Linked DNA regions of Homo sapiens: all the other regions are linked to region 4. Evidence: promoter capture Hi-C in 16 types of primary human blood cells and fetal thymus (Javierre and others, 2016). All regions are on one chromosome and are shown on one strand. The core of a region is centred on a gene start or on the middle of the fragment in contact, and the rest is flanking DNA. Distances in the headings are between cores, read along the strand shown.

Region 1 (3,774 bases), core at 620-3,119, 360 kb before region 4:
TAACGTTAGTGTGGTTCATTTTAATAGTAACATAAGTTTCTGTTTATTGACTGCCAACTCTGTAGTTAAGTAGGCATACAGTCTGTAGGACAGCCTGGCATGGGGGTGGTATGAGGCCATTTTACAGATGGGGAAATTGGCTCACAGGCAGACAGCTATCGGTGCTCACACAGCTCTGGTTCTAGAATGCCTGTCCCGTGCTTTACAGCAAAGCTTTATTGATAACGGCCATTGCGTTTCTGAGGAAGAGCTATTTGGTAGAAAGAGGTTGGGCTTAGGGTCGGAAGATCTAGGCTCTTCTCCTGTTTGCTGTGATGGGCGTGTGATCCAGGACAAGGCACCTGGCCTCTGAGCCGCATCTTATCCCTCCTCTTTAGAACAGAACCACACTGACACCTGCTTTGCAAGGTGGTAGTTCTAAATGTCAATCGAGGACAGGTGGACGAGAAGCTCTTGGCAAAGCATGCTTCACCAGACAGAGGCTGTGAGGCAACGGGTGTGACCCCGCGTGGCTATTGAGTAAACCGGGCTCACATTAAGCAATTTACACATGGTCATTTGGCAGGAAGGTGGCATGGGATCCCACGTATGACACGCCTCATTCTGTGATGAAACACCCCCTCAGCCACCCCCATCTCTGCCCCACTGGGTGTTTCTAGAAAAAAACCTTGAAGGTTTTTACATAAGGAACAATTAAACCAGATGGGGAATTTTAATGCCAAGAGTTGGTGGCCCTAAACTTTCTTCCAGAAAGAACAAACCTAGCAATCAAGGGGAAGAGTGTCTCGCCTAGTGACCTTATTTTCTAGGAGTAGGCAGTGTGGAGCAGGAACTCACATTTGGTGCCCCGCCCCATCCCGTTAAAGCACTTAGTACTGTCACCAACACCTTGAGTGCCACCCTGAGTGTAACATCGGAACCCCATTCAGAGAGTTGGGTCTGCATTCCTAAATCAGCATGTACAATTAGGATGGTTAAAGACTTGCTGTATTTTACATCTGTGAAAGGGTATGATCCGTCTCCCTCCCTCTCCCCGCAGGAAGTGGACCTATTCAGCTGTGGCAGTTTCTCCTGGAGCTGCTATCAGACAAATCCTGCCAGTCATTCATCAGCTGGACTGGAGACGGATGGGAGTTTAAGCTCGCCGACCCCGATGAGGTATGGCCAGAGCCCTGGGAAATCTCTGGGCTTGAAAACCTGATTTCCTGCTTGCATTCAAAAACTCAGTTCTTTGGGCACAAAAAAGGGTTCACCAGTACTGCTGAGAATCTTTCCACGTGAGGCATCCTTGGCTGTTGGGAAAATGGAAGTGGAGTCATTGCTTTGTTGATAAACGTGTACAGTGTTTTCTGGGTATGCTTCATACAAGGGCGTTGCACAGATTTCACTGTCTTGATCAGTTGTCTGATCAAGAGGCCCAAGCTGCAAACTGAGGTTCTCTGCTGACCATCTGAAAATGCCTTAGGAAGGCTGCCCTTGTCCATCGGGGGAACAAGCCTCATGTGGCCCCGAGCCAGCCTTCTGTCCACTCCTTAGCTGAGCCCAGCAGTGTTGACCCCAGCCCTGCAGAGTTAGAACCAGGAGCCCTGTCTAAAGGAGAAGGCCAAGGGCAGGTGGGATACCAACCCCGCCAGAAAAGCGTTAGAGAGAAGCCCTTGGTCTCTGGCACTGGGGAGCGTAATCTGTCACCATTCCCACCCCGCCTCCAGTTCCCTTGGGAGACAAGCATTGAGGAATGAGTATATCACACAGCTCAGAATCCCACTCGGCACCTGTTAACTTCAGTAGTTGGAATATCCAGCCTGGAGGGTGGGTGACACCACCTTTCCCTGGTCTCAGGACCCTCCTGGCTCTGAACCCTTGGCTCCCAGGAGGTTTCACTGAGCTGGGGCCAGGGAGCAGGGACCTCATTCCCCAGTGGTTCTGCCCCTTGGGGACACAGTGCCCCTACCATAGGTACTCAAAGGTACTCAGAGGTACTCAAAAGGTCCTCCTGCGGACCTTGTGTAGGTGTCAAGTTCTCTCTAGAGTGAACATGCCTCAGAATCATAATCAGGGAGGAATGTCATTCACTTTTTCTTCATTGACAAATTGAGTTTAACTCTTTTCCATCCATGTTCACCAAAGGTGGCCCGCCGGTGGGGAAAGAGGAAAAATAAGCCCAAGATGAACTACGAGAAGCTGAGCCGGGGCTTACGCTACTATTACGACAAGAACATCATCCACAAGACGTCGGGGAAGCGCTACGTGTACCGCTTCGTGTGCGACCTCCAGAACTTGCTGGGGTTCACGCCCGAGGAACTGCACGCCATCCTGGGCGTCCAGCCCGACACGGAGGACTGAGGTCGCCGGGACCACCCTGAGCCGGCCCCAGGCTCGTGGACTGAGTGGGAAGCCCATCCTGACCAGCTGCTCCGAGGACCCAGGAAAGGCAGGATTGAAAATGTCCAGGAAAGTGGCCAAGAAGCAGTGGCCTTATTGCATCCCAAACCACGCCTCTTGACCAGGCTGCCTCCCTTGTGGCAGCAACGGCACAGCTAATTCTACTCACAGTGCTTTTAAGTGAAAATGGTCGAGAAAGAGGCACCAGGAAGCCGTCCTGGCGCCTGGCAGTCCGTGGGACGGGATGGTTCTGGCTGTTTGAGATTCTCAAAGGAGCGAGCATGTCGTGGACACACACAGACTATTTTTAGATTTTCTTTTGCCTTTTGCAACCAGGAACAGCAAATGCAAAAACTCTTTGAGAGGGTAGGAGGGTGGGAAGGAAACAACCATGTCATTTCAGAAGTTAGTTTGTATATATTATTATAATCTTATAATTGTTCTCAGAATCCCTTAACAGTTGTATTTAACAGAAATTGTATATTGTAATTTAAAATAATTATATAACTGTATTTGAAATAAGAATTCAGACATCTGAGGTTTTATTTCATTTTTCAATAGCACATATGGAATTTTGCAAAGATTTAATCTGCCAAGGGCCGACTAAGAGAAGTTGTAAAGTATGTATTATTTACATTTAATAGACTTACAGGGATAAGGCCTGTGGGGGGTAATCCCTGCTTTTTGTGTTTTTTTGTTTGTTTGTTTGTTTGTTTTTGGGGGGTTTTCTTGCCTTGGTTGTCTGGCAAGGACTTTGTACATTTGGGAGTTTTTATGAGAAACTTAAATGTTATTATCTGGGCTTATATCTGGCCTCTGCTTTCTCCTTTAATTGTAAAGTAAAAGCTATAAAGCAGTATTTTTCTTGACAAATGGCATATGTTTTCCACTTCTTTGCATGCGTTTAAGTCAGTTTATACACAAAATGGATTTTATTTTTTAGTTTAACTGTGTTTCTCCGACAGCTCACCTCTCTCTGACCACCCAGCCATTTCCTTCCTGTGCTCCACGTTCTTCTGTGTGATTAAAATAAGAATATTATTTTTGGAAATATGCAACTCCTTTTCAGAGATCAGGAGGGATTTATGTAGCAGCTATTTTTACTGCAAAAGTAATTCACTGGAAAAAAAATGTAATTTGTAAGAAAGCTTTATTTTTATCTCAGCTCTATGTAAAGTTAAAGTTACTGTACAGAGCTGAAGGACGGGGGGCGGTAGGGGTCTTGATGAAACCTCTTGAACGAAGCACAGTTTGTCCCATCTTTGTTCACTCGTGTGTCTCAACCATCTTAATAGCATGCTGCTCCTTTTTGCTCAGTGTCCACAGCAAGATGACGTGATTCTTATTTTCTTGGACACAGACTATTCTGAGGCACAGAGCGGGGACTTAAGA
Region 2 (3,767 bases), core at 1,067-3,566, 500 kb before region 4:
ATGACTTTTGGCTGGGCGCGGTGGCTCATGCCTGTAATCCCAGCACTTTGGGAGGCTGAGGCGGGAGAATCACTTGAGGTCAGGAGTTTGAGACCAGCCTGGCCAACATGCTGAAACCCCATCTCTACTAAAAATACAAAAATTAGCTGGGCATGGAGGCGCGTGCCTGTAACCCCAGCTACTCAGGAGGCTAAGGAACAAGAATCACTTGAACCTGAGAGGCAGAGGTTTCAGTGAGCCAAGATCGTGCCACTGCACTCCAGCCTGGGGGACAGAATGAGACTCCATCTCAAAATAAATAAATAAATAAATAAATAAATAAATAACCTTAATAACTTCCTTAGAGGCCCCATCTCCAAGTACCACCACGCTAAGGGTTAGGGCTTCAGCATAAGAATTTTGGAGAAACGTGAACTTTGGCTGTTGAATGCAGCCCCCATGCTCACTCCTGACTTCCTTAGACTAACCAAAAAACTTAATAGTATTCAACATTATTGCTACCAGAGTACTAAACTGCCTAGGATGAGAACTTGGGGTGTGGCTCCCCAAGTCCATAACAGATATGTGACAAAAGCACCCTCCTGGATCACTTTCACTATTCATTCATTCACGCGATTGTTCCTTGACTTAATACTTATCCACTGGAGTGACCGAAGGCCAGGTGTGCTCCCAGAGGCAGGGATAACAGTGGTGAGCAAGGAGCCACCATGCTCAGGGAGAAGTCAGACAAATAAAATGGAAAGACAGAAGAAAATAGAATGTGGCACTTCCCACCATAAGAACAAGTTGGTTTTCATTTGTGCACAACTTCACATTCTTTTTAGAGATGGGGTCTCACTACATTGCCCAGGTTGGTCTCAAATTCCTGGCTTCAAGTGATCCTCCCACCTCAGCCTCCTGAGTAGTTAGGATTACACACGTTTGCCACTGTCCCCAGCTACCTTGGTTTTGACATAATCTGGCCTGTAGCAGCTCCCTTTTCCCGTTCCTTCTTTAAGCTTTTCCAAACAGATGAATATCTTTCAATTTTCAGAAAAGTAATATCCTCAAACTCTTCAGAGTACTCCTCCCTTATCTGCAGAATTTAAACAATACCTCTTGCTTCTGTGTGTTGTTCATGGCATGTCATAACAGCCACAAGTACCTGAGCTGGATTTGAACAGAAAAGTGAGGATGATTGTAAAATGAAAAAGTATCAAGATATTTATTCTCCGAGGCCAGGTACTACGACTCACACTTGTAATCCCAGAACTTTCAGAGGCTGAGGCAGGAGGATCGCTTGAGGCCAGGAGTGTGAGACCAACATAGCAAGACCTCATCTCTACAGAATATTTTAAAATTAGCCAGGCATTGTGGTGTGTGTCTGTAGTCCTTACTACTTGGGAGGCTGAGGCGGGAGGATCATTTGAGCCCAGGAGTTTGAGGCTGCAGTGAACTATGATTGCACCACTGCAGTCCAGCCTAGGCAACAAGGGGAGAGACCCTGTCCCTTGAAAAAAAAAGGGTATTTATTTTTTGGATAATTGTAAATTATCAAAGAGGTCATTGTTTCTTTCTCCTTTAATATCATTTTAATCGGTGGATCTCCACTTTTCCTCCCCAGATTTCTTGCTCTGAAAATGAAAAGTGGCAAAAGTAGAGGAAAAGACACTGGTGGGTAGAGTCATGACAAATTTGACATTTCTAAACTGGGCTTGACAGTGGAACTTTGAAAATATTTATCTATCAGAAAATAGTTTCAGCCATGGGCAATTTGGTAAAAGGTTTAGTTGATGGAAAAACCGTAACTCAGTGTGACTGGCTTTAATGTAAGATGTTCTTGAAGGCCACAGAATCACCAGCATTTCCAACAACCTGGAAAATTTAGACCAGCTTGGAAAAATAACAGGGGGCTGGGGTCATAGCCAAAACACTGTGCAAGATTAGATAAATTTATGTGCTTTAGAGATTTGGATTTAAATATTAAATTATAAATGAAAGCAATGCTGAGGCTGTGTTTAAACAGGGCTCTCTGCCTATGTTCTGGTCTCTTTTGCCTCCAAAAGATTGGAATAACTTTCCAAAATAAGGTGTGTGCTGCATCTATATATAGTTGTTTCCCATTTGCATTTCTCGTAAAAGTATGTGCTCCTATGGCTCCTTTAAGTAGTTAAAAAGGACTCTGCCCTGTGGGTGCTGGCCTGTGTCTCAGTACTTTTGTGTGCCTTCCAAGCCCAAGACAATGACTTCTCTAAGAGGCAGCACTGCTCATCTGAGGTCCTTCCTCCTGCCACCCTGGCTGGTCTAGAGTTTCAGCCTCTGCACAGGCAATGGGCTAGTCCACTTGAAGTGCTGGGTCCATTCTGCCTTTTTCACCTGCCATGGCCCTAAAACGACTCTCTTCTTGAATTGTCTGGTGAACATAATCAGATTTTCTCCAATTTTGTTTCTGTTTTCATACCAAAAATGAAGAAAGCAACTGTGTTAGTCCGTTCTCACACTGCTATAAGGACGTATCCAGGACTGGGTAATTTATAAAGGAAAGAGGTTTAATGGACTCACAATTCCACATGGCTGGGGAGGCCTCACAATCATGGTGGAAGGTGAAGTAGGAGCAAAGTCATGTCTTACATGGCAGCAGGCAAGAGAGTGTGTGCTGGGGAACTGCTCTTTATAAAACCATCAGATCTCATGAGACTTCTTCACTATCATGAGAACAGCACAGGAAAACCTGCCTCCATGATTCAATTACCTCCCACCGGGTCCCTCCCATGACACATGGGGATTATGGGAGCTACAATCCAAGATGAGATTTGGGTGGGGACACAGCCACACCATATCAGCAACCCCCTTCCTGTAGAACAAACAAACCATCTGCAGAACAAAGGAAGAGTAAACCCAAGGCTTCATCATGGTGGTCCTCCCCCTTGCCCCTTTTTTCATCCCTCAAATTATACATGGAGTGGCATTAACCATTAACCACTCTTAGGTTTAAAACCCTCCTCCCTGTTGCCCTGAGAGTAATTTCCAAAAACATAGCTTGGTGTGGAAGCCCCGCTCATCTTCCCAGTTCTAGAGTCCCCCAATGCCCCCATCTTTGCTCTCTGTTTCTACCATAGCCAAGTAGGTTCTGATTCTTTCTACCTTCCCAGGTGTTGGAACATTCCAGGTTGGAGTGTTATTCTTACAACTCTTGTCCCCCATTTCAGTTGGCCAACTCCCACTCACTCTGCCAGGGTTTCCCCTAACCATCCCCCACTGTTGGCTTAAGTGGCCCCACCATGAGCTGTCATGCCATATCGCAGCGCTATTTTTGCACACTCCAATGTAATTGCGTTTGTACAGCTGCTCCCTGTTAGACTCCTGGAGGGCAACGGCTGTTTTGTGTTCCCTGTTGTGTCCTCACAGCCCCGCACAGTATTCAGCATATGATATGTGTTGAACAAATACTTGATGAATGGATGAATACAATTACAGGAACCAATGTTTAGGTTGAGCCATATGAAATGGCTGCTATTTAACCATTTTTAACCTACAAACATGGCAGTTTCATGATTCTATCTAATGAACTAACTGTCTTAGGAATACTGTGCCCCAGCACAAAAGACTGCTTGAAATTACCTCCAAAAGATGTAGGGGTCTAGGCCCCATGAAGAGAAGCTTCAGATAACACAGGAGAGGACAAAGGTAGAAGGAAAAGAGGATTTTGTGAAAAGAACTGAACAGGCATTTCCAATCAATTATATGCTCAGAATTTTTCCTGGTCTCCCAAATATTGCCCTTCAGCC
Region 3 (3,833 bases), core at 1,241-3,740, 470 kb before region 4:
CCTTGGCTGAAGAACTCGACTAAAGCCTTCTTCCTTGGAAATACTCATTGTCTCAGTGATTTGCTTTCTGTGCCTGAAGCTGCAGGGCCTAGACCCCCTGGTGTTACAGTAACATCCTCACATAGAGGAAGCTGAGGAAGCTCTCTGGGGCCTCTTCTATAGGGGCATTAATCTCATCCATGACGGCTCCACCTTCATGACCTAATCACCCTCCAAAGGCCCCACTTCCACACACACCACTTGGAGTTTAGGATTTCTACATATAAATTTTCGGGAAAGGACAGAAATATTCAGACCGCAGCAGAAGGTCTAAGTATTTTTAAAAGAAAAAGAAAGGAGAAGACAGAGGAAGAAAAGAGGAGAGGAGGAAAAATAGAAGGAGAAAAAGAAATCAAGAGATGTAAAAAAAAGTCACATTTAATCACACTTGGAATCAGAAAACAACAGAGCCACAGTGACAACCATGTGATTTAGTGTGGGGGAAAGTGCAGCAAGATTTCCTGTGGGGGGATGTAGCAGCACAACTTTTTAAATAAGCAACTTTTATGGAAAAAAATTTGACTTTACCATTTTTCGTATATTCTGATTTGGTAATTTCATTCTCGTCATCTGTCCTGAGAAAATAATCTGTGGGCAACGCTGTTTTGTTTTATTTTGTTTTGTTTTGTTTTTGAGACGGAGTTGCACTCTTGTAGCCCAGGCTGGAGTGCAATGGTGTGATCTCAGCTCACTGGAACCTCTCCCTCCCGGGTTCAGGTAATTTCCTGCCTCAGCCTCCCGAGTAGCTGGGATTGCAGGCACCCGCCACCATGCCTGGTTAATTTTTGTATTTTTTAGTAGAGACAGGGTTTCACCATGTTGGCCAGGCTGGTCTTGAACTCCTGACCTCAGGTGATCCACCCGCCTCGGCCTCCTATAGTGCTGGGATTACAGGCATGCGACACCGTGCCTGGCCAGCTATTTATAGCAATAAAATATCAAAGGCCTAAATGTCCAACATGAGGGAAGGGGTCACTCTGATGGGGTTCTATATCCTTCTTCAAACATGATTATCGAGAGATCTAAATAGCAGGAAAATGTTTGAAATACGATTTTTCAGGAAAAAAAATAAAAAAAATCAACAATGTATAGGGGGGAAAATGTCCAGAAATAAAAGTGGAAGGAAATATGCCAATGTATAATGAGTTGGCTCAGGAATAGAGAGAAAATATCATTATTATTTTTTTACTACTTGGTATTTGTATGTTTCTAAATTCTGTATAATGAGCATGCATTTCTTTGAAAACATCAGAATAAAAGTAAATTAAAAGATGTAGTAATAATTATATCAAGAGATCCCTTCTTTGGTAAGAAAATGGGTTGACTTTGCTATGCCTGCTAGACATTATGCTGTGGCAGAAGTAATCAACCTGCATTGTATTCTGAGTACTTCCTCCAGAAAACAGCTCTGATAAGCAGTCCAATCTCAGAGGAAGGTGAAGAAGGGCATCACAAAAGTGTCCTCCAGTATCCCTGTATTTCTGTCTGTTTTTATATCAGCTGCTCCTGCGAAACTCCTATAACAACCACTAAACCAGCCCCAAAGCTGGTGGAGTCTAGTGAGATATTCATTTCAATGGATTTGAGCTTCTGTTGTTTTAATGTGTATGTCTTGTGTGTCAGTAAGTGAATTTCTGTGTAGTAGAATAAATAGATTTTTCCATTTTTTCCTGCAATGCCTGTATATTACTCTAATCGGAAAGATGGGACCACATTTTTAAAAGAATATTGTTAGAAAATAATTGAAGGGGCTTTAAAAGTAAAGATCAAAAGGGGAAATATTTCTATTTTTTTCTCAAATAAAATGTCAAAAGTGTTTCAGCTTTGAGTTAGCATTCAACCGTCCTGCAATGCTTTGGAGAGTGAGAAAAGGTGTGGCATATCTCCCAAAACACAAAGAAGAATATATTAATGAATGTATTGTCTGTGGCCGTTTCATACTACAACACCAGAGTTGTGCAGTTGCTACAGACTGTGTTTGGCTTACAAAGCCAAAAACATTTATTATCTGGCCCTTTGCAGAAAAGGTTTACTAAACCCTGGCGTTACATGTCATGACATTAAAAACACTTGAGTTTGCAAAATCTGTCTTAGAGAAGATAGATAAGTTTCTTTCAATAATGCTGCTTTTAGAAATTCAACCTTAAGCTTTCTTGACAGAAGCACATTGAATCAATTTGGATTGCCTCTGGCTGCAAGGAACAGGAAAGCCAACAGTGGCTTATAGACACAGGGTGAACTCAGCTCAGGCAGGACAGACTCTCTGGTGCCATCTGGCTGTTTCCAGCTTTTCATCCTTAGCAAGAGGTGCTTGTCTGTGCTTTTGCCTTAAGGTCACAAGGTGCTGCTGCACCACAGTCCTCAGGCTCACCATCCAGCAGGAAAGAGAAAGAAAAAGATAACTAGAACAAAGGCAGAAAAGCAATTCCTTTTTATTCTGGAGGGCCTCCCTTTCCTGCGATTTACAGCTTCTTTTGAATGCCCTGTTATGTCGTATGGCTTTTGGAAACAGCAGAGTTGCCTGGGTGAGTTATTTTTCTTTAACTAGGCATGTTGAGGCCACAAACCATATGAGGGTTTTGTTAGATAGAAAGGGGACGACATGTACATTGGATGGGCAGCTGATGGTGTCTGCTGCAAATATATACAGCATCACCACCAAGAAGCCTATGTATTGATACATTGAATGTATCATCTGCTTTCAAATTGTTTTACTGCAAGCAGTAAAATGAATGCAAACCCCTAGGTACTGACTAAGCTTGTCCCCTGTCCTGCCTAGTTGTCAGCCCTGTTTCCTAATATGAGGCTGTCCTTTCTAGGGTCCTTTGAACTCCCTTCATATCTCTCCCAGACAAAAGCTCTAAAGGCGGAGATAAAGCTCCTGGGGCTGGGAGGGCACAGCCACCCGCCCTCAGCAGCACATCTGTTCAGGGATATGAAGTACCTTCTCCTTGCTATAGAAGCCCCTAGTTTTAGTGGGTCAGTTTACTTTCCCCCATCTCCTCCAAGGACAAATAATTTGTATCTGTAGAGACTGCCCTTGGCCTTGTCTTCGGTAATCCATACTCTGAGTTATTTGGTGGGGGGAGGGGGGGGCGGGGGGGGGGCGCATTCATATCTCATGGCTCCTTAAAGAAGTTCCAAAATCCAGACACATGACCGACTCCCTGGTCCCTGCAATTTTAACTCATCTAGAAGAACCACTCTTGATTTCTGAATGGTTCCTCCATTGTACCATAGAATTCTGACAGGTATTTCTTAATTAACCGTTCAAACTTTCTTCCCTGAAGAGTTTAACAGCACAAAAACCCAACAAAATATGCATAATCTTTAAATAAACTCAACAAAGTCTGCTTCATAAAAGCATTACACTTTCCAAATTCTTTATTCCTTCACCCACTTCTTCAATATTTATGAATTATAGATGTGGAAGAGGATTTATCATGATAAAGTATCTATATTTCAAACCCACCAGTGATTTACTTCTCAGGGGTGACCAAAAAAGATGCAGATTGATGTGCAACAATTGAACACAGGTGGGAGTGTCCACCCTCTGCCACTGTGCTAGTTATGCACGGTGTTGTTCCGTTTCCATTGTCTCTCCAGGAGCCACCTTGAGACTATTTGTTGGACATGCTCTTGCTGATTCACTCACTGCCATCATCCAAGGCAGAAGATACTGAGAATCATACAAACAGGGACCCATTCCAGAATTCTAAAGGGCTAAAGCTGAAAATGACTTTAGTGATTCCCTGAGCAACTTTCTAATTTTAGAGACTAAAACCCCCAAACCC
Region 4 (3,788 bases), core at 180-2,679:
ACTCGGACAATGATAACCAACAGATAAAACTATTGCATACGTGTTTACGGAGAACTCTAAAATAGTGATCAGGCTGTCCACCTGACCCAAGAACCAATCTTAGCATCCCTAAAAGTGAGACAGCTGGGGATAGCCTGCAATAAGAAACAGAAAGCACCACTTAGTAGAAGCATTCTTGCCGACAAAACTTTGAATGAGAATCTGACCAAGCCTCCAAATGAACATTCATTTTACAGGACATGCAGGTGATACAAACGTTAAGTGACACCACAACGAAGCTATCAGACAAATTCAGAGTGTGGGGGCACTGGACAAGACAATCAGTCCTGTCTCTTAGGAGGGGTAAGAGGAGGTTGCTCTAAATGAAGTGACACGTCTAAATGTAACCTGTGGACCCTGTTAGGATTCTCATTCACGCAGACCACTGTAAAATGTCATGTTTGAAAAAACTAGGTAAACGTGAGTGAGCATGGACTACAAAATGATACTGGAAAATTAGTATTAGTGTTGTTAGGGGTGATAATAGCATATGTAAGAAAATCCCTAAAACGTTTGAGATGTATTCTGAAAAATGTAGAGGTGAAAGGCCATGATGACTGGAATTCGCTTAGGAGTGGCGGGAGAGAAAATAAACGTGGCAAAATCTTCCTGTTGAATTTACCCGGTTGTGTAGGGGTCAGGGCTCACTTGACTATTTTCTCCCACTTTTTTGTGTTTGGAAACAATTTTTTTAAAGCGTGTTCATCGGCTACTGACACATCATGCTAATTGAAGTGTTGGGTGCAGGTTTAAAAAGTTTCGAGGGAATTGGTGTGTCCGTGAACAATCCACGACAAACGTGGTGGGGCCCGCGGGAGCGCTGCGGCCCAAGACAGTGTGACAAGCGGGAAGATCACGAGTCCGCAAGACACCAAGCCTCCAGAAATGCTCCAGAAACGCTCCAGAAAGCCTTTAAAGAACGGATTTGAACCCAGCCCTCCCACAGCGGCTTCACCCTGGACTCCACGAAACGCCAGCAGATCCACGCGAGAACCACACACACCTGGGGCTGGCGCCGCTGGACGCCGCGGCTTCACGGAGACCCAGGGCCCAAGCAGAGCCAAGGAGCGGCGGCAACCGCGGGGGCCACTCGGAAGACCGCGGAGCCCCGGCCTTAGGCGCCGTCGCGGCTGCCAGGCCCGCGCACCTTCCAGCTGCGGTGAGCGCGCTGCCCTTATCCCGGTGCCTCACCTCTTCCGCGCCAGCTGCAGACGCACCTCCCTGTCCTCGGGCGTCTCCCTCCGCCCCTCCTCCTCCTCCTCTTCGTCCTCAGTCCCAGCTCGGCACGGCGCCTTCACCACCTCTCCGAAGAACGTGGCCGCCATAGCCGCCCCGTGACCGGCTGGACACAACTGCAGCGCCGCGGGACCGCACGCCGGCTTGCGCGAGACCACGCTCCCTCACCGCGCGGGCAATAAGTCCCGCCCCGCACAGGCCACGCCCTCCGCGCACAGCCCAAGCTCGCGGCCACACCCCCACCGCGCGGGCGCTACGTCCCGCCCCGCACAGGGCTCGCTCCCAGGCACACCCTGAGCTCGCGGCCACGCCCTCTACACCGCCCGCCCGCGCTGTCATGCCCTGGGCCAGCAGTCCCCGCAGCTTTTTTGTTTTTAAATTACAGATTGGGGGAGGGGGTCTCGCTATGTTGCCCAGACTGGTCTCGAACTCCAGGACTCTAGCGATCGTCCTCCTTAGACCTCCCAAAGTGCTTGGATTACAGGCCTCAGCCACCGCGTCCGGCCCCCAAAGGCTTTCATTCGCAGCTTGAGCCCTGCGGGCGCCAGGAGGTGGGAGGACTGCGGGCTAGAGGGGCAGGGGGCGAGAGGAGGGCGGGGCCTCCGTTCGTGGCGGTAGCGGAACCAGGGGTGCAGGGGCGGAGCCAGCGCCGCTGGCCGTGGCGTCCGGGAGCTGTGGGGCCGTCCCCTCATCGTCCGTTTCCATTTTCCTTCTGCGTTAGGAGAGACTGGGGTAGCATTAGTGTACTGAGCACCCGCTCCAAATTTCGACTGCCCAGGTAGGTGGCGGCGCGGTGGTACTGAGGGCCCCCGTAGCCAGGCGCGCCCTCAGACAGCGGGCACGGGCGGACGCAAGGGCAGCAAGAAATACAGCGCTTCGTGGTGGTATAAAAACGAGACCTTTACTCTGGCAATAGGAATTCACATTTCAAAAGCTGATGATTGTCAAGGCGATTTAAAAAACATTTTTATGAGTGTAAAAAATAGTGTTTTAAAGTTGGCCATTTTCTAATACAAAATGTTTCTTTTTAAATAGCCTTTAATAAGCAGAATGTGTGATTGTTCTTTAATTGGTTCTCTTTAAAATGTGCTGGAAGACAAAGTTCGAGGAGCACTGTTTCAAGCAAGAGAAAAAGGGGACATAATTTAAATGAAAATGAAAATATGCAGTAATGCAATGAAAAAACCGTTTCCTAGATTTAGTTGTACCGAAATACATGACATCGCCTGCATTTTGTGACTTTGTCAGTAGTCACGAAGGTAAGTACTACTTTGGGGTCAGAGAGAGCCTGTTGAGATAAAATCTCAAAGCTGTTAGAAACATTTTAAGATGTGGAAAGATAATCAACAAAATCATTTACATAAAATTAGTACTTAGCAGATGTACACATCTGCAAAAATAAAGTGAGTTTGGAAGCAAAATTTGAACATTTAGCAATAAAATTAAGACGAAATTGCTAGCCAGTAAGAGCTTAGGAAACTGGATATCCTTAGTGAGATAGAATAAACAAGATCACCACAATGATGTTTTAAAACATTAGGACTCCTGGGTTAACTGGTCTATTATGATGATGGAACTGCAGAATAAAAAGGTTGTTTGGGCACCACTTGTCTTAGTCCTTTTGTTAATTTGTCATTTTTACCAGTAAGATCTTCAATTTGATTTCACAGTTCCATGATGAAGAAATATTTTCTGCAAAGCAAATTACTGTAAATAGGGTAATAGTAATACATTTGGCCATGATTTAAATTCTGCACACATTTCAGAGAGAACAATTTTACAATGTTAAGTTTTAAGCAAATGCTTATTTCATGCAGTTACAATAAGTTTAGGCCAAGCACTTTTTAAAAAGGCAAATATGTTCGAATTAAATACTTAGCCAAAAAAGGATTTCATTATGCAAGACTGATAATACAATCTCAAATACTGACAGAAATTAACCCCACCACAGCAAATTATAAATTCAAAGCTTAAATTCTTTCATTACACTGAAATTGCTAAAAAAAAAAAAAAAAAAAAAAAAAAACTTTGCATAAAATAGTCTTCACCGAGTTAAGTATTTCATTTTATAGTTACTTGTTGAGGACATAATATACTCAATAAATATTATAAATTAAGTGTAAAATTTGAACTGGAAAGAAGTTTAAGCATTTCATTAGAGCTCAAAAATCAAACCCCATGCACCTAAAAGTAATAGCAGTTTATTAGGAATTCTTCCCTTTCTCACCTGTGTATCAACATATTGGGGATCAGTAATTTAGATGAAAGTATACTACAAAAGGAGCAAAGGACACAGACTTAGTAGGTTAGAATATTCTGGCTTATGCTAAAAAACAAAAAGCCTTTTTTTTAAAACAGACATGCAACCACAAATTTCTCAAGTATTTTAGACACTTGGTTCATCTGTATAACAAAAAAAAAAAAATGCATTTGACTTAAAAAAGAAATAGAAAACCCTAGGTTTCTGTAGTTTAGTTTTTCAGATTTACACATGCAAATCATATATTCAGATA
Region 5 (3,555 bases), core at 876-3,375, 410 kb before region 4:
TTTAAGAAGCACTAATCTTAACTAAAAACAAACAAACAACTCACCTTCAATGTAAAGACCGATTGCTCCTCTTTAGCCCTTCCCTAGAAATCAGCTTTTGATCACTGACCAAGCACTCTCAAGCTTCCGATTCCCCTAAATCTCACCTGATTTTCCAACACCTCCGAGAGCTTGACATTGCCACTTTTTACACATGAGAGGTGAGGATATCGAACCTCTGAAAGGTTATCTGATCAGCCTGGGATCTCCTGGGGCAGAGCTGGGCTTAAGAATCACCTGCTTGAGATTTCACCTGCAATTGCCTGACCCATGGGGCTGTGACTTCTTGGATTAAAGCATCATCCATGCACCTTGTCACTCTACATGGGCAGAGCAAGCCAACCTAGAAACCAATCAGGAGCCACCATAACAAACACAGCCGTGACTCAGCTCTCCACCTGCACACCTCCACCTGCCCATCAGTCCACATTGGACACTTAACACCCACAAAGGATTTGAAATTTTCCCAACGGCCTCTCACAGGACACATAAAAGCAAACACAAGCTGTCCTCAGTGCTGTGCTACAGAATACGTTATCCATTGGTTGATCACACAGATCCAGTGAAATATTGTCAGGGAGTTCATTTGAAAACTGTTGTTGCCATGATGTGCTTGTAGTGCCGTCTGTCAGAGCAGATATTGACCCATTCAAATCCAGCGGCATAAGACAAATGACCAATAGAGACAGTCGTTTCCAGGGTAGGGTCTCTATTATTTTTAGCAAATTTTTCCCTGTAGGGTTATGTTTCGGATGCTTCAATGGGCAGATTAAGATGTACTGTGACAGTGATAGAGAATTAGCAGTGGATAGAATTGAAATTATGTCTCATTTCAGGTGTGGTCTTCACCAGGTCTCACTCATTGGCCTTAATTGTCAATTGAATTGAAAGGGGGTCCTTGCAGTCAAGGTCAGAATTTGGGAGGCTCAGAAAATCAAGAGCTGATTGCTGTCCATGGACAGATGTGACCTTTAGGTGTTTGGCCACCCAGCCCAGTTGACTTGGATGAAATGTGTAGAGAGGCTAGAGCCACAGACTTTGGTTAAATTTATCTGATAGGATTCTGAATTCCTTCTGTGTTATCTTGAATTGCTTTGAGTTTTCTCAACACAGCTATTTTGAATTCTCTGTCTCAAAGGTCACATATCTCTTTCTCCAGGATTGGTCACTGATGCCTTATTTAATTCATTTAGTGAGGTCATGTTTTCCTGGGTAGTGTTGATCTTGTAGATATTCTTTGGTGTCTGGGCCTTGAAGAGTTAGGTATTTATTGTATCTTCACTGTCTGGAGCCACAGACTTTGGAATCAGACACACCTGATTATACATCTCAGCTCCTCCATTATTCACTCTGTGACTCCAGACATGTTACACCACCTCTCTGAGCTTCTAATTCCCTGCATCCATAAAACTAGACAGTCATACTTAAATTATTGAATCATTGTAAGGTTTAAATTAATTAATGGAGACAAAACATCTTACTCATAATAAACACCAGTAGGTGTCAAAGGGAGAGAGTGTCTTTTTTATCTGAGCATTTGTACTGAAATGAGAACATTATGATAGCAGTGGATAGCAAAGTCAAAGTAACCATAATTTTTAAATATCCCCTAATGAACTGACCATGTAGAGAAATAGTTGACACTCAAACCCCCTTCACATCTACCATCAGCCTTAATGGTAGTCTATTGGGTCAATGTCTATGCCAGTCTTAGTAACAAATGAAAATTGAAAACACTGCAAATACAGTGCAAACTGATGACAACATGAAACTCCAAATCTTGCCTATGATATAAGGTTCCCTGAAGTTAAAGAAAGTGATGGAGGAACTACCATGATTGTTCAGTGTGCAGTGAAAGCTGATGTTACTGTAATAATCTAAAATTCATTAATAAAATCCCAAATTGGCTGGGTGCTATGGCTCATTCCTGTAATCCCAGCACTTTGGGAGGCTGAGGCAGGCAGATCACTTGAGGTCAGGAGTTCGAGACCAGCCTGGGCAACATGGAGAAGCCTGGTCTCTACTAAAAATACAAAAATTAGCCTGGTGTGGTGGCACACACCTGTATTCCCAGCTACTTGGGAGGCTAAGGCAGGAGAATCGCTTGAACCCAGGAAGCAGAGGTTGCAGTGAGCCAAGATCGTGCCACTGCACTCCAGCCTGGGCAACACAGTGAGACTCTGTCTCAAAATAATAATTATAATCCCAAATTACTTCTTTTCTTACTTTAAGTTTTATTTTTCAAGACAAAGTTTCAGCTGTCACACTGCCCTTGTTGGTTCTGTGAAATCATGTTCCCCATTTTAAGTAAATTCACTTTTCAGTAAAAATTACTCTTTGAAGACAGAGGTCTATGTATATACAAACTTACATGTGTCATTTCACAGAATAAGGAAGAAATGGTTTCACAAATTATATTGCATCAATGTGAACTCTCTTTGGGCACAAACACAGGATAAACATCTGTCAGATAGGATTAAAGTGCCTGTGTGCCACTGAGGAATGGGATGAAGAGAGAAGGAAGATAATAAGAAGAGAAGGCAAGAAGAAGAAGAAGAATCAAACAGACAGAAATGGAACTTCCCTCAAAGGTGGTGCAGACCTGCCTGGGGCCCCTGAGAGCAGGAAGGCTTTCCTCCTGAATCCAGCAGAGCTCTTCTCACCACGTGGCCAGAGTCTGCCTTCTGCATGAATGTCATTGCCTAAGTGACTTCGAGATGCAGATGGAGCGTGGTTTCACCCTCAGTCTCTCCTCCTCTGGTTCACGCCCATGTCTGATTCCTGGGCATCGCTTTGCCTCAGAAAGCCACCTCCAGTCTTTCCCACCCACTTCCAATTTGCCCTTGCCCCTTCCTCCAAGCCAAGGCAGTGGTTGTATAAACATAGCTGTATGTACAACACTCAGCTTTTACACTGGTCTCCATTGAATGAGTAATCGCATTACCAACCTTCTAAGCAAGTCGGCTCCCTCAGGACTGCCGTCTTCCAGCCCTCGTAGTACGAAAATGATTCATTAGTCCCTTCATCACAATAACATGAGTCACATGTTATGAAAAGCTAGGAGGATGTATTTTGTGTACACTGAAATCTAAGGTTTGCAAATTTCTGCAATTTAACTTTATTGAGGAGGGAGTGGGGTAGAAATGAATTCCACATTTTTTCTAAGTACGAAAACCCACATCAGGCAACATCTGCTTAAGTCAGTCTCCAAGGACTCAATGTAAACGGTTGTTGATATAAATAGATGTGTTTTTAAGCAAAGACAGATGTCCCAGCCCCAAATGTTAAGAAAACAATTAAGTTCAAAGACATGTTGGTTTTCATTTCTTTCCCAATAGGTGAATCTTCACTGGGCTATGACAATGAGGGGTGGAAGAGAGAACACTGTGTTTCCCTGTGGAAAGGTGTGTTGTGCCGTGGGTGGCAGGTGTGAGCTGCACACATGCAGGATGGCGTCCGCTTGCCTCCCTAGTGTTGCTCGAGAGGCCTGGGTCATGACGCCTTCCCTTACTCATG
Region 6 (3,732 bases), core at 321-2,820, 330 kb before region 4:
TTTGGGAGGCCAAGGCAGGAGGATTGCTTGAGGCCAGGAGTTTCAGACTAGCCTTGGCAACATGGCGAGATCCTATCTCTAGGAAAAAAAAAAAATAGCTTGGCATGGTGGTGCATGCCTGTGGTCCCAGCTATTGGGGAGGCTGAAGTAGGGGGATTGCTTGAGCCCAGGCATTTGAGGCTCCAATGAGATATGATAATGCCACTCCACTCCAGCCTGGGCAACAGAACAAGACTCTGTCTCAAAAAAAAGAGAGAAAGAAAGAAAGAGAGAGAGAAGGAAGGAAGGAAAGAAGGAAATTATCACAACTATCGCTTCAGGCGTTGGCTGACCTAGACCTCCACCCCGGCCCTCACCACCTGGCCAGTCGGAGCCTTGGTCCTCTACATCCATGGGGCCCCTACTGCCTGAGCTAGGCAATCTCTCAAGACCCCAGGGCTGGCCTTGGCGGACAGTTCTCTAATTTCATTCTGGGTAAAGGGACCATGAGCGAGTTGCTCATGGCAAAGTCCCAGAGGATGAACAAGAGGCTGTGAGTCTCGGTCTGCCAGAGGGATTCTAGGAGAGAGAAGTAGCTTAATAAGCAAAAGGTGGCAAATATGAGCCGAAAGAAGGCCCCATCCCCTTGTAGTAGACATGCACTTCTGAAGACGGCTCAGTGGATTGGAGACTGTTCCCAGGGCCACCTTGGGAGGCATGAGGGAAGGAGCTTGGGTCAACCTGTCATACCCAAAGCAGAGTCACCCTCACTCAGGACACTTGCTGAACAGGGACAAACCAGCTTCATAGAAAATCCATGAAATTGTAGACTCCACCAGAAATTTTAGACTCCATCTACTTATTTCTCCTGGATTGTTACATTGAAAATCCAGGTCTCTCAGTTTAGACCTTTGGGGAGACTCTTCAGTCCTCTCCCCATCTGCTAACCTTGACCAAACACAAAGGAGAGAGGGGCTTCAGAGGAGGGTCCCTCGGACCTTGGTGGGCAGGACCCACTTTCCCTGTGCAGAAGGAAACTTGAAATCAGGAGACTGAGCCTCACCCAGGGACAGGCCCCACCACTGTGCCCTGACAGGCCCTTGTGGACAGAAAGGGACAGGGCGTAGCCTCACTTCGACCCTCTGGGTTTGCTGTGGGGCCAGCTGGGCCTGGTGTGGCTGAGCTCCAGAGTGCTGTCAGCCACTCCCAGTTCCCTCATGACCTGGGCAGGGAATATAATATCACCTCTATCTGTGCAGTAAGCACAGCAATGTCAGGGACACTGTTTTTAGAATCTGGCTTGCTCCCCTCCCCCAGCCCAACTGATTATCTGTCCTGGTTGCCAGGCACCTGTTTGCATTAGATACAGAACACTCCGCAGGGTCCCGAGTAGGCAGTTGTGGTCCACAGGCCACTGGCAAACAGAGGCAGAGCCACAGAGGGGCTGCTCGTCCCCAAATGTCTCTCCAGCCGCTCTGAAGCTGCTGCGGGCTGCTGTGCTGGTGATGGCTGAGATCATGAGATGAGCCCCGGGGGTCCCTGGGCATCCCTGGGAGGTCCTGGTTTGTGTTGCTGTGGTGGTCTTAGTCATTAAGAGATGACACTTTATAAAGAGGAAAAGAGCTTAGTAAAAGTGTTGTTCTCACCAGCAGGTCCATGGAGAAGGTGGAACACTGGACTAAAGAGACAGGCTGAGGAAGCCCTCAAGTCACCCCTGATGGAGGCCAGACCTTGAATGTTACAATCCCTCTGCTTATCGACCCTTAATAAAAATCTGAGCAGGTCTTCTCTGCAGGACACAGGAGGCTTTCTGGAAAAAAAAACATGGAAAAGTGAGTCTCCTAAGCGTTCCCAAGTGATTGATGCAGGACACATCTTAAAAGGATGAAAGGAGGATGGAGGAAAACTTCAGAAGGAAATAACACAGTTTGAATGAAAACACCTATTTTGCAGAAAGTCCGGAAGTGCTCGACCAAGAGATCGCGAGATGGGAGCAGAGAGTACAGGAAAGGAAGGAGGAGAAAGAAAGGCTGGAAACCTTTGAATGCACAAAAAAAACAGGTCATGAAAGATACCACGAGCCAACTAAAATCTCTGGCTGAAAATGTGCTGGACACCATGCAGTTGGAAGATTTCACTAGGGACCGCAGTGATGAGGGGAACTTGGAAGCAGAGCTAAAGAGGAAAGCAGAAAATGAAGAAACCACCCCCTTAAAAATTAAGTAAATTTTTTTAAAGTTATGTGCATACATTCTGTATATACAGAAAAGATATCTAAATTGTATGCACGCAGAAGGAGCATTGCCCCCACAAGGAACAGTTCATGCTAAATGGTGCAGATGAAGAGACTTTGACAAAGGAAGTTTCCTGAGCTGTGGGCAGGGATGAGAGCTCAGACAAATGATGGGAAGCCTCCCAGATGCCAAGGTTTCCCACCCCCAGGTTTCAAGGGAGGAGAGAGGAAGTGATGTCATCTGAGCCCAGTGAGGCCCTGTCAAGGGACCAGGGAAAACTGCCCCCACTTTTTGCTCCCATCCTCTCATTGACTGCAGGTGCACAGGCAGCTGCCTGAAAGAGGGCCTGCGAAGTGCAAGCCAGAGGAGTTGGCCTCCATGGCACAGAGCAGGCAGAAAACAAATTTGGAGAATGACCAGCACTCTTGGGTTTATTTGACTGAAAGTGCTTGTTTTATTGCATTCACTCACATCCATTTATTTAATAAATATCCATGGAGTGTCTATCATGTCTTCTGCACTGTTCTAGGGGCTTGGGATACAGAGATGAAAAATGCCAACCCGATGAGGCCTGCAGACCACTAGAACTTACATTTTAGTGATGGGCAAGGTCAGGTAATAAAAGACAAGCAAGTGATGGGAATATGTGCTCTGCAGACATTTCCAATCCAGTGATGGGAGAACAGGGGCTATGGGAGAGCACCCAGGAGGCAACATTTAACCTGAGATCTAAAAGTAAGAAGGAGGACCCTAGGAGGGTCAGGGGCAGAATATTGCAGGTAGAAGGTACAGGTAGGATAAGACCAGGAGAACTCTGCCTCTGGGTCCAGGGGAAGCAAAGTAAAGTGGGGTTGTGGGGAGTGTGCAGAGCCCTGTGCACAGATGTGACATCCAGTGCAGTGTGATCACCCAGGGAAGGGTCTTACCCCTCGAGAGGTGGGGTTGCAGGGAAGGGGGCATGGAGGAATGTGTATGCCACCTTGACCTTTTTGGTTGTGGAGAGAACGGAATAAGAATTGGGGGAGAGGCAGGATTTCAGCGAGGGGTGTCACAGGGGTCTGCTGTTGGGGTGGTCATCACAAGATGAATCAAGGACAGATCGGGCTGTGTTTGGATGGTTGTGAGGATCAGAGAGGAGGAATGAAAGACACCCTTGGGTGCTTTCTTATAACCCTGTGATGTTTGTCACTACTTTAAGAAAGCCTTAGTAAAATCTCTGCAGGAGAGCCCCTGACAAAAAGTCAGAAAGGCTGTAGTGTATTAATTACCCCAGGGAAAGCCTGCTTTTCCCTAGCATAGAGTGTGGTGTGCCGCATGTCTCTCTTGAACTTGCATTTGGTTCCTGCACTACTCCCACAACAAGGACGGTAGGGGCGGGTACAGGTGGGGCTCCAGTGAAGGGTGGGGGTTCTCAGGTATGATGCGTTTACAGCCTGCATTGAGGCTATATGATGCCCCTCGTTTGGAGATTCCAAGAGGAATTTTAAGTTTATTCCACCAGAGTGCACCACCATTAAAT
Region 7 (3,443 bases), core at 270-2,769, 430 kb before region 4:
AGGAGATGGAGATGTAACGTGCTCAGGGTGATGAGAGCTGAGGAAAGAAGTGAGCTGGAGAAACGGATTGGGACACGGGAAGGCATCACTGACGCGGGGTATATGAGTGACAGCTTGGATTTGTGTCCCTGCCCAAATCTCATGTGGAACTGGAAGAGGGGCCTGGTGGGAGGAGATTGGATCATGGGGGCAGATTTCCCCCGGCTGTTCTTGTGATAGTGAGTGAGTTCTCATGAGATCTGATGCTTTAAGAGTGTGTTGCGCTTCCCGGCCGGGCGTGGTGGCTCACACCTATAATCCCAGCACTTTGGGAGGCCGAGGCAGGTGGATCACGATGTCAGGAGATGGAGACCATCCTGGCCAACATGGTGAAACCCCGTCTCTACTAAAAATACAAATATAGCTGGGTGTGTTGGCGTGCACCTGTAATCCCAGCTACTCGGGAGGCTGAAGCAGGAGACTCGCTTGAACCGGGGAGGCGGAGATTGCAGTGAGCTGAGATCGCGCCACTGCGCTCCAGCCTCGCAACAGAGCGAGACTCTGTCAAAAAAAAAAAAAAGAGTGCGTGTGGCGCTTCTCTCGTTGCTCCCTCTCTCTCCTGCCACCGTGTGAAGAAGGCCCTTGCTTCCCCTTCTCCTTCCGCCATGGTTGTAAGTTTCCTGACGCCTCCCAGTCATGCTTCCCGTACAGCCTGCAGAACTGCGAGTCAATGAAATCCCTTTTCTCCACAAATTACCCAGTCTCAGGTAGTTCCTTACAGCAGCGTGGGAACAGACTCAAGAGCTGAAGCAAGCAAGGCCGTTAGCAAGGAGCGGGCTGGGGAGAGCACTCCAGGCAGAGGGAACAGCCAGGGCCAGGGCCTTGAGACAGACGTGAGCCAGGATATCTGAGGAACAGCAGAGAAGCCAGTGTGGCCGCAGCTAAATGAGGAACAATGTGTGAGTTCCCTGGGGCGGCCAAAACAAACACCACGGACGGGGGCCTTCAACCACAGACACCGATTTCCTCACAGCTCTGGAGGCGAAAAGTCCAAGAAAACTGCACGGAGTATCTATGAGGCCCTGATGGAGACCTGACCTGGTCCACACCCATGGCCTGGCAAGCTAGATGGGGTGAATTTTCACCTGCCACAGTCGCAAGTCAAAGCCACCGGCTTCTCTCTTCTCCCTCCCATTGCTCCTGACAGCCAGGGTTAATATTTTGCCTCATGTAAACAGGGAGGCATCCACCCGAGAATCTCCCCTCAGCCCACATAAGCTCTGCAGAGAGGGCTGTGTTGCTCCAGTTCCCACCTGGACATGAGCACTTTGAAGGGCAGCTTCCCTCCCGGGGTCTGGCTGAGCTCAGGGTAGGCGTCAGTCTGCATGGATTGGATGGAGGAAGGCTGTGCGTGGCAGGAGATGACACTGCCCTTGGGCTGTGTGGTTTCTCTCTGTTCCGAGCCCTGTTCCTCCACCTTAGCGGAATAGCGCCTCTCCATCCAGTTCTCATCTTTGAGAACGATTCTTGGGATGAAAGCCACGACGTTGGATATGAACAACCTGGTTGCCAAGTTGTTTGCATTTTTGCCTCCTCTCCTTTCTGAAGGGAAAAGCTGTCCTTGTGTGGGGCCACTTCAGACCCCAGTGAGCAAAAGGAGTGATGTTTAGGGGAAGGCAGGGAGAGCAGAAACTTGCATATTCCACACCTTCTGCGGCTGGGCACTGGGATGGGCCTTTCTCATGGCCGGTGGGATGGGAGAGGAGAGAGGTCTCCATCCAGCACCACTTACATCACACACATAAGCGACCTGGGGTATTAGTGGCTAGGAGTGCAGGTTCCAGATATCTCTCAGGTATAGTCTCCGCAGGATCCTGTTCCTCCCTTACCACTCATGAAGCCACTTTTCCCCCCAGGAGCCTTGGTGGCCTCCTATCTAAAGTGGGGATGGCACACAAATCCATGTCCTTGTGACGGTCCCATGAGAGAAGCAGACAGACCCTGTGCACACAAGGGCCTGCAGGGAGAAGCGCTCTACACGTGGCGACACCCTTTCCTCCCAGGATGGTCTCCTCTGCATTCCTGCTGTCATCCCAGCGTCCCACCTGATTCCCCAGGACACAGCTGACTAGAAATCAGCCCTGGACTAGAACCCACCGCCCGCCAGGGGTGGGTACGCTTTCTCGGAGGCCCCCATGGGGAGGCAAAATGGAAAACCACACCCAATACTCAACCTACAGTGGGCCACTAATTCCCAAGGCAATTCTGCTGTTTGTATCTGTGGGAGAAATGCATTTCCTTTGTTTTCGAAAAAGCAGATGGCCAGGTGTCATTGGCAGAGGGGCTGCAGTGAGGGCAGTGAGGGAGAGCAGAGGAAATGAATGGACAGTGCAGAGGACAGGCCAGGTGGCCCACAACCAGGCAGACAGCTCACGTTGCCTTTTCTGGAAATAGGGACTGCATGACCAATCTGTGCCTGTGCCTCTCTGGCACACAATGGACAATTTCGGAAAACTTCAAAAGAAAAAGCCAAGTTGATTTTGCTAAAAATGTGAAGTTTCTCTCTCTCTCTCTCTCTATCTCTTTAATGCAATGCATAGTTTATCATTTTCTTGTCTTTAGGATTAATTAAAGACAGGGCTAAATTTGTTTAAACAAGCTCTAAAATATTAAAAAAGAAGAAGAAGGCAAAGTACATAGTGTTTCCAAGTCCAGGGAACATTCTGTTCCCTGGGCTTCAGTTTATAACTGAATGTGCTTTACGTTTAGAAGACAAGCTATAGCTTGTAAAATGAATGTGGAAATAATCTAAAGTATGAGGCCTCCATTATTTATTATGTAATTGGAGAAAATTCTGGCTGGGAGAAATCTCTAGCTGAAAGCCAAGATGATCCCTACTCAATCGTTCTTAAACAAAATTAACATGTATCCATTTCTTTGATAATATTTCACTGGCAGGCAGTTCCTCTTCTAGGCTGCTATGAGCAAATTGCCAAGTTGGGTGTCACCCGTATAATCATTATCATGGGAAACCGTCAGAGTTCCTTGGGCAAGGGAATCAAAGATTTCAAGTGTTGACATTTTGTTAAGTAGGTTTTTTATAAAGTCTTACATTTAGAACTTTTCAGAACATGTCATCTCCAAAATCAGTAATCATTAAACGACGTCCAAGACCATGTTTTTGAGATCCTTCTATACTCTAAAAGCATTTTGATAATATTATTCCATAAACTGCCCCTTTTTTATTAAATGCATATCACAATCTTTTCAAACTATGAATATGGTCCTGGTTCATTCAAGAGAAAGAAGCTCTGCCCAGTGCAGTGGCTCACGCTATAATCCAATCACTTTCAGAGGCAGGAGGATCACTTGAGGCCAAGAATCGGAGACCAGCCTAGGGGGCAACAAAGTAAGACCCTATCTCTACAAAAATATTTAAAAGTTAGCCAGGGGTGGTGGCACAT

What was found. Contacts are between HindIII fragments. The CHiCAGO score rates a contact against its expected background, and 5 or more counts as called.
Region 1: a fragment that was not itself captured here is called in contact with the fragment with the promoter of PSMG1 in region 4 in 5 of 17 cell types (total CD8 T cells, neutrophils, activated CD4 T cells and 2 more); the score reaches 9.7 in total CD8 T cells.
Region 2: a contact is called between a fragment that was not itself captured here and the fragment with the promoter of PSMG1 in region 4, in 1 of 17 cell types (M0 macrophages). The highest score is 6.0, in M0 macrophages.
Region 3: a contact is called between a fragment that was not itself captured here and the fragment with the promoter of PSMG1 in region 4, in 2 of 17 cell types (M0 macrophages and total CD4 T cells). The highest score is 5.6, in M0 macrophages.
Region 5: a fragment that was not itself captured here is called in contact with the fragment with the promoter of PSMG1 in region 4 in 9 of 17 cell types (total CD8 T cells, total CD4 T cells, naive CD8 T cells and 6 more); the score reaches 14.3 in total CD8 T cells.
Region 6: a fragment that was not itself captured here is called in contact with the fragment with the promoter of PSMG1 in region 4 in 1 of 17 cell types (total B cells); the score reaches 6.2 in total B cells.
Region 7: a contact is called between a fragment that was not itself captured here and the fragment with the promoter of PSMG1 in region 4, in 9 of 17 cell types (naive CD8 T cells, total CD8 T cells, non-activated CD4 T cells and 6 more). The highest score is 15.3, in naive CD8 T cells.

The regions. Positions count from the first base shown.
Region 1 is chr21:38,820,547-38,824,320 of GRCh38, forward strand. It overlaps ETS2 (ETS proto-oncogene 2, transcription factor), which reads left to right. Exons shown (of 10, transcript NM_005239.6): 9 at 1,040-1,158; 10 at 2,128-3,774. The coding sequence ends at 2,343. Among named protein-coding and RNA genes, the nearest start is that of ETS2, 17 kb to the left of the region's middle. RefSeq lists an enhancer at 1,855-2,392. The HindIII fragment of the contact is 3,317 bases long and covers 212-3,528 here.
Region 2 is chr21:38,684,996-38,688,762 of GRCh38, forward strand. No RefSeq gene overlaps it. Among named protein-coding and RNA genes, the nearest start is that of LINC00114, 87 kb to the right of the region's middle. The HindIII fragment of the contact is 2,641 bases long and covers 997-3,637 here.
Region 3 is chr21:38,709,958-38,713,790 of GRCh38, forward strand. No RefSeq gene overlaps it. Among named protein-coding and RNA genes, the nearest start is that of LINC00114, 62 kb to the right of the region's middle. The HindIII fragment of the contact is 610 bases long and covers 2,186-2,795 here.
Region 4 is chr21:39,182,022-39,185,809 of GRCh38, forward strand. It overlaps PSMG1 (proteasome assembly chaperone 1), which reads right to left and starts at 1,430. Exons shown (of 7, transcript NM_003720.4): 1 at 1,231-1,430. The coding sequence starts at 1,364. BRWD1 (bromodomain and WD repeat domain containing 1) reads right to left here. Exons shown (of 41, transcript NM_033656.4): 41 at 3,461-3,788. RefSeq lists silencers at 1,106-1,185, 1,386-1,605. The HindIII fragment of the contact is 4,125 bases long and covers 1-3,242 here.
Region 5 is chr21:38,770,462-38,774,016 of GRCh38, forward strand. LINC00114 (long intergenic non-protein coding RNA 114) reads right to left here and starts at 3,016. Exons shown (of 7, transcript NR_027065.2): 1 at 2,988-3,016. The HindIII fragment of the contact is 4,008 bases long and covers 122-3,555 here.
Region 6 is chr21:38,856,145-38,859,876 of GRCh38, forward strand. LOC101928398 (a long non-coding RNA gene) reads left to right here and starts at 1,395. Exons shown (of 3, transcript NR_109926.1): 1 at 1,395-1,481; 2 at 1,632-1,811; 3 at 1,933-2,718. The HindIII fragment of the contact is 9,082 bases long and covers 1-3,732 here.
Region 7 is chr21:38,750,915-38,754,357 of GRCh38, forward strand. All of the region lies in intron 1 of LINC00114 (long intergenic non-protein coding RNA 114), which reads right to left. Among named protein-coding and RNA genes, the nearest start is that of LINC00114, 21 kb to the right of the region's middle. The HindIII fragment of the contact is 4,817 bases long and covers 1-3,443 here.